2 separate regions of the Homo sapiens genome follow, and region 1 is linked to region 2. Evidence: promoter capture Hi-C in 16 types of primary human blood cells and fetal thymus (Javierre and others, 2016). All regions are on one chromosome and are shown on one strand. The core of a region is centred on a gene start or on the middle of the fragment in contact, and the rest is flanking DNA. Distances in the headings are between cores, read along the strand shown.

What was found. Contacts are between HindIII fragments. The CHiCAGO score rates a contact against its expected background, and 5 or more counts as called.
Region 1: a fragment that was not itself captured here is called in contact with the fragment with the promoter of ELOVL4 in region 2 in 1 of 17 cell types (neutrophils); the score reaches 5.4 in neutrophils.

The regions. Positions count from the first base shown.
Region 1 is chr6:81,637,589-81,641,343 of GRCh38, reverse strand. No RefSeq gene overlaps it. Among named protein-coding and RNA genes, the nearest start is that of TENT5A, 110 kb to the left of the region's middle. The HindIII fragment of the contact is 845 bases long and covers 2,010-2,854 here.
Region 2 is chr6:79,946,298-79,949,558 of GRCh38, reverse strand. It overlaps ELOVL4 (ELOVL fatty acid elongase 4), which reads left to right and starts at 2,006. Exons shown (of 6, transcript NM_022726.4): 1 at 2,006-2,379. The coding sequence starts at 2,280. LOC124901350 reads left to right here. Exons shown (of 2, transcript XM_047419628.1): 2 at 1,548-2,172. The coding sequence starts at 1,744. The coding sequence ends at 2,172. LOC124901351 (a long non-coding RNA gene) reads right to left here and starts at 1,754. Exons shown (of 3, transcript XR_007059656.1): 1 at 1,632-1,754. RefSeq lists a silencer at 1,897-1,946. The HindIII fragment of the contact is 8,446 bases long and covers 1-3,261 here.

The DNA of each region.
Region 1 (3,755 bases), core at 1,183-3,682, 1.7 Mb before region 2:
TCCATCTTCTCCAATCCCTGTTCTTCTCCTTTTATGTAAAAAACATAGGGTTTTATCAAGTTACTCAAGCTAACCTTCTGGGAGCCTTCCTTTCTGATAAATTAGACATCCCATACATTGGCAAGCCTTATTGATACTACCTTGAAAATAATATCTGAACTTCTCCTCACCTCATGTCATAGACCACCCTCTTAGTCCAGGCCTCTGCCTTCTCTTGCCTCAGTGGACACGTCAGCCTCTAACTGGTTTCTCTACTTTTGCTTCTCACCCCATTGCCCCTATTCATTCTTCAAATAGCAGCAATAGAGATCTTCTCAATGATACTGTGATGATGCACTTCCCTTGCTTAGGATCCTCAAGTGGCTCCCCTTATTTAACATAAAATTCCACCTTCCTCCCATGGTATATCATGCCCTTCATAATTGTGTTTAGCTCCCCAATCTCATCTTTTTCTACTCCTCTCTTCACTCAGTTTGCTCAAATATCACTGATTTTATATGGAAGAAAGAAAGGAAAAAAGGTAGGAAGGAAGGGAGGGAGATAAGGATGGAGGAAGGAAGGGAGGGAGGATCCCATCTTATAATAAGGAGCTAAGGCCCAAGGTAACAATAGCAGAGTCAAAATTTACCCTCAGCTCTGCTTTATTTTCCAGAGCACTACTCTATTTAGTAAACTATAAGGCAAGTACAAATAAAACAAGCAAACAACAATAAACTCTAGTATAAAATCAAGAGTCTATTGAAAAAATTAATGTTATTTGACAAAGAAGAGTAACTTTAGTTAATTCTGAATTCAGATAGACCTATCATTTACTTACTGTGGAACTGTTAGCATACTGTGAACCTCAGTCTCATCACCTGTAAAACTGACATAATAAGACTACCTTCTACCACGGTTGTAAGAATTCAATGATAATGCATTTGCATGCCTAACAAGTTGTGGCACATATGTCTGCTAGAACCCTTCTGTCTCTCCTCTTCTATTTTCAGAAGCACTTTACATGTGTTTAGAGTATGAGCCAGCCATCATAAAACTATGGCTTTCCTTGCGCAGTGATAACAGCAACAAGAATTCCATGACTGTTCCCACAGCTACTAATACCTTTCAGTGAGCGTCTGCTCTGTGCCAGGCACCGTAATGGATGCTTTGTATACATGATTTCTTTTAGGCTCCCAACACCTTAATCTGTTTCTTGGAAACTTTGGCAAAGTAATTCTTCATGAAAATGTTTCCATGGTCAAGCACATTTCATAAATACTGAAAAATTATATGCTCTTCCTGGAAAGTCATACTATCTAATTAGAAAACAAAAGATCTTGAGAAATCTTATATTAAACAGTGTTTCATTAGCCTATATATTGCTATGAAAATCATCGCTCCATGACTAGCTTATTTATTTATTTATTTCATGTTTGTGCTTGGCATCCTTTTATATTCTGCAGCCCTAATGTTCTTTGGGACACATATTTTGACTCTATGTACTGAACGCTACTTAAGGTCAAATAAAAGTGTGGTAAAAGTTTTGCATTCCAGACATTATGTTCTTTACTGCTTTCCCTTTTGGATATTATTCATTATTATGTCCTTGATTCATTTGTACTGTGATGGGTTGGATTTCCTCTCTCATCACCGATAATTCTGCTGCTCATTATAAAAGCCATAATTTCTACAGTATACATATATATATACACATGTATATTTATAACCATATATATGTGTATATTTATAACTATATATACACGTGTATATTTAAAACCATATATACACGTATGTATATACACACACACACACACAGAGAGAGAGAGAGGAAAGAGAGAGAGAGGAAAGAGAGAGAGAGAGAAGTGTTAATATGTATAGAATTTGGAGTAAATACTTTGGCAGACATGATGGCTTTTAGTCTAAAGTATCGTGTTGGATTAGTTAGATTTAATTTTTGTTAGAATTTTAAGCTATTGAATGAAGTGTAAAAATAACAATAATCAATATAATATCATGTTTTGTTTAAAGCTTACTTTTCCTTATAACTTAAATTTTTTTTCAAAATGGGTACAAGTTTGTCTAATCATTCCTCAAGGCGGGAATTGCTAGGATTAAAATCGAATGGAATAATAAAATAGCATTTTAAAGAGCTCCTTAGAACTGGGATATTTTTCTATTTTTGTTTGAATAAAGCAAAGTCATAACAGTGTCTGGCACAGAGAAGGTATTCAATAAATACTTAATAAATGAATTAACTTCTATACCATAAAAAGAAAATTGTAAGTTCTAAAACCACAGCTGACACATAAATCTCTTGCCTAACCTCCTTAATAAATACTCTAATGCTCTAGTTTCTTCTCTGTGTTAGAACTGGGCTTGGGTTCTTTTAGAGTCGCTTATTGCCATTAAGAGTGTCTGAAGGTAGTCATCTAACTTATTCTTTTTACCTTTTTTTTAAACAAAGTCAGAATTTTCTTCTGAAAATTTTTGGAATGATGGCTGTCGTTAGGCAGATTTTAATTACTCTTATGTTTGTACTAACTGTTAAAGAAATAGTTATTCACTGACGTGTGTTACATCATAAGGCTGACTTTATTCATGACCATCGCAATAGGTACAGGTACCTTGGCAGTAGAGTTTTGCAGTTGGGAGAGTGAGTGAGCTCAACTCTGAATACAGCATGAGCAAGTGGGAATTTATAGCCAAGGAGCAGGGTGGGAGTCAGTGGATGGAAAATTACTAAGAGGAAACATCAGGGGTGAGAGGGATTCTGGCTAGACCAACCTAACAAGATTCTCGCTGTAGACACCCCAGGCGATCAGTCATCACTGCAGGGCAGGCAGAGGATAAGGAGCCAAATATCAAGGGTGAAGCTTCTTGTTAAACTGACTTAGCAAGGCTCTCTGCTAAAACTAGATTTAACAAGGAAATGCGCAGATGAACTTAGGAGAAGATTCAGAAGGTTGATAAATTTTCATCAAGCAGAGACTCTTTGTCAAAACCTCAAGATATTATAAAATAGACCTTTTGGTTTTTTTCTTTTTTGTCATTAAAGCCAAAACTCTTTCCTATTTCTTTTATGTTTCCTTTTTAAAGCTCTTTATCAAATTCTTTCTTTCTTAGGATTTCTTTGTCTAGTATCATAATTATATAGAACACTAAGATTTCTTTTGTCTATACTTTCCAGGAGCTACTAAAAAGAATGGTTGAATTAAGAAATTACTAGACAACATAATATTCAAAGAAGAAGATTTAATTCCTTAGGAAAATCATGTGAATTAAGTTACTTTTATAATTGTATGAAATAATAGGTTTTTGAGAATTGTGGAAAGCCTAGGTAAAGGTATTATTCAGACACATTGTGCAGTGATCTTACTTTCTCCCCAAGTTATGCCTTTCTGATGCCGAATTTAGTTCAAGAATTGGATGTGGGAGTTGATGTTGTAAACAAAATAATATAACTGTTAATGCAAAAGTTCTTCCAAGATGGTGGTGTAAGTGCAAATATAACAGGGAAAGATATGACAGTATTCTGATAGAAAATATAAATAACAATTGCTTGCCCCCTTCAGAAGCAATAGGGGCAAAGGAAAGTGTGTAGAGATTTGCAACATCTGCCTTTGCAGGTGGAGCCACCTGACTCTGACAAGCCTTCATGTCTTCAATTAAATAAATTGGAAACTTCATCTAATGTGTACACATGGTGGGAGGTAGGGGTTGCCTGTGTGTTTACCTATGTGTGGTCTCCTCTCACCAATTTGTGACTCATGAAACAC
Region 2 (3,261 bases), core at 757-3,256:
GGTTCTGGGCAGTCACTGGTATTTACAAACCACTTATTCATGCCAGGTAATAGGGTTCCAGATTGGGTAAGTTTTATGTTCTGGTTCTTGGTATATGTTTAGACAGCTTATAAATGTAAATAAACATTCTACTCTTACAGGTGGAGTGTGGACACGGTGATATCCGTGTGACCGCCATTCCCAGCTGAAGGTTATCTCATCTATGATTTTCTTATACGTGACTGGCACCCCCTAGTGAATAGGGACTTAAGTTGACCTCCACGGTAGAAGAAATACCAGGGAAATACCTGAAGCTGTTTTAACAATTTCTCCTTGTATTAAGTATTATGCTGCAGTTTTGCGTGTGTGAATGGAAGTATGGGTAGAGATCTGTTCTCCCTAAAAACTCCAGGATTCCACAATATAGAAATAGTAATCAAATTTTTAGGTGAAGCTCGAACTAATCCGAACTTTGTTAGATCATCACTGTAAATGAATGGGTATTTATCCACTCCCTAAATGAAGAGACTTGACTGGATTTCTTTTTTTTATATAGCTACTAGAATCTGTTACACATAATTTAGGATTGAGACTTGAGAAATTGTCATTCCAATCCAGAAAACTTTAGATTTGCAAATATATTTGACAAATTAATAAATTAACATTTTATTTGGTTAATTTCAAGAATAGGGCATTTAAAGAAGTCTGTGTTTGCTTTAGTTCGGCAATAAAGTTCCTGCCACTCACAATAATCCTTATTATTCTCTGAAAGACATGTTATATTTTTGTCATCATAAATATTTATTAATTACTGTTTATAGCACTGGGTTAGGTACTCATCAAGCAACCAAAAATAATTCTTACCATCTAGGATGCTTCCAATATAAAATATAGACAATATATAACCAGGTCAATTGGGAAATAGATCATTTCAGTATGATAAAAGATAGTATTCACATTAACAGTGTGAAAGGGCAGGAACAATAAGACACTTGACTCACTGGTCTTTAAAATGTAGCATCCAAAATGAGCAAGTGGAGAAAAGGTTAAACAAGTAGGTGACACATTTAAAAAACAAGTAGATGAAAGGACTATTCTCAAAAATCTTGTTTTATGTGAGAAACCATCAAATTATGAATTCCAAGTACTGTATTTTTTTTACTTTTCAAGGGTAGGCTCTCCTATACCTTATCTAAACAATTTTTCAAAATAGCCACAATTACTTTGTTTTCCTCTCTACACTAAATTGCCCTTTGCCTCTTGAGCGATTATCTTTTTCAGATTCACCTCAACTTCTTCAGGTTCAAGCGGACTTCACCTGTAAGCCCCTCTCGGTTCTCCCTCTTCTCTGAACTACTAATGGCCTAATTTAGCACAATTATATTGCTTTGTTCATTCCATGTATAGTAAAAGAGTCTACAAAACACATGCAAGCATTCATGCAATTATATGTTGATTTGTTCATGGGTCGACCCCAAAGTCTATTCTCCATCGCTGAAGCATGGAAGACAAATACCCTTCACTTCTTCAGAGGCATAACACATGCACTTCTCTTGTCATGGTGACAGGCATGTGCTGGTGGAGGTCAAAGAAACAGGAACACAAGTGAAATCGAGGTGAGTGTCAGGTAAGGACCAAAGCACCACGCCTACCTCATCTTTGCCCACAGAACACCCATTCTTCCCGTGTCCTGTTTCCCAGGACGTATCCGGGGCGGATAAGAAATCACCCGTGGGGAGGCGGTGAACTCCTCCGCAGGGGCCGATGCCCGGGACAGGGGCGGGGAAGGCTAATGAGGCGACTTGTGCGGGGAGGGGCCAAGGAGGAGCCCAGGTGTCCCGCTCCCGCTCGACGGCGCGCGCCTGCGCGAGCCCAGTTGGCGTCGCACCCTTGAGCGCAGCATCCCTACGCCAGCGAGTCCCAATACTAGGGAGGGAGGGAGGGAGGAGGGGCGGCCGGCCCCCCGCCCCCGCGCGCGGCCACGTGACGCCGGCTGAGGAGATTGGAGGGGCGGCTGCGCGAGGCTGCAGACTGGTGCAGCGCACTGTGCTGGCGGCTGGGCCTCCTCCACCTCCTCGTCTTTCTCCCGGGAACCTTGACGACGCCTTCCGCTTGGCCCTGCCTTCTGCCGCATCCCCGCCGCCGCGGCGCCTTGAGGAGCAGGAGAAGACGCAGCCGGGCCGCCGCCGTTAGAGGGGTTCCCGGCCGCCGCTCGCCCCGTCGGCCGCCACCGCCTCCGGGGTCAGCCCTCTCTCTGGGTCTCCGCTTTCTCCTGCCGCCAGCGCCCGCTCATCGCCGCGATGGGGCTCCTGGACTCGGAGCCGGGTAGTGTCCTAAACGTAGTGTCCACGGCACTCAACGACACGGTAGAGTTCTACCGCTGGACCTGGTCCATCGCAGGTAAAGCCGCTGACTTCCCCATCCTCGCTCGGTCCCCCGCGGGGGGTCACCGGCCCCTGGTCTCGCAGCTCCCGGGCCCGGCCCCACAGGCCCCCGCGCCCTGCGGCTTTCGGATGCTGCGGATCAGCGGAGGGGCCGGCGCGGGCACTGCGGTTGAGCACTGGTTAATCTGATCCGAATGTTAAGGCCTCCCCTCCCCCGACACTCGCAGGGTTTTCTTCTGAGCTCCCTCCATCTCTCATCAGCTCTCGGATGCGGGAGCTGACATATCAGATGGAGCCTGTGCAGCCAGGAGCTCCTCGCAGGAGCCGCCCCACCCTGTGCTCCCACATCTCCCGAGCTCGCCTCCCTCTTCCCCGTGCACAGGATTCCTTTTAACATTTAGTCCTATTTTGTATGGAGAGCGGGCTGGGGAGGAAGGAGGGCTTCAGGGGCAGCTGAAGGTACAGGAGGTTTCTTCAGCCTCCTGGTCGCTTTGACAGAACCCTGCTAATCTTTTCTTCTATCTAGCTCCTTCATCTATAGTATAATTCGGACTGAAAAGTAAAATAATATTGTTTGGCTCCTTGAACCTTGAAGAATGTTAGTTTCCGAGGCATTTTCAACAGCAAATATGTTTGAAGTGATTGTCTATAATGGCTTTGCGCACTGCAGTGCAGTCAGGGGGAGGGGGAGGCCAAAACACCGGGGAAGAAATCAGTCTTTAGGAAGGGGGTCTCTACAGCAACACCTAGAGGTTGTCCCAGATGCCTACATATATACAGTTCTTAAATCAGCAAACTTTTCTTTAGCTGTTGCAGTTAATTTGGCAGGGCTGTCAATTGTTTGATTTATGCAGCTTTCCTAGCGTCCAACTGTGATATTATATTTTTACATTGTACT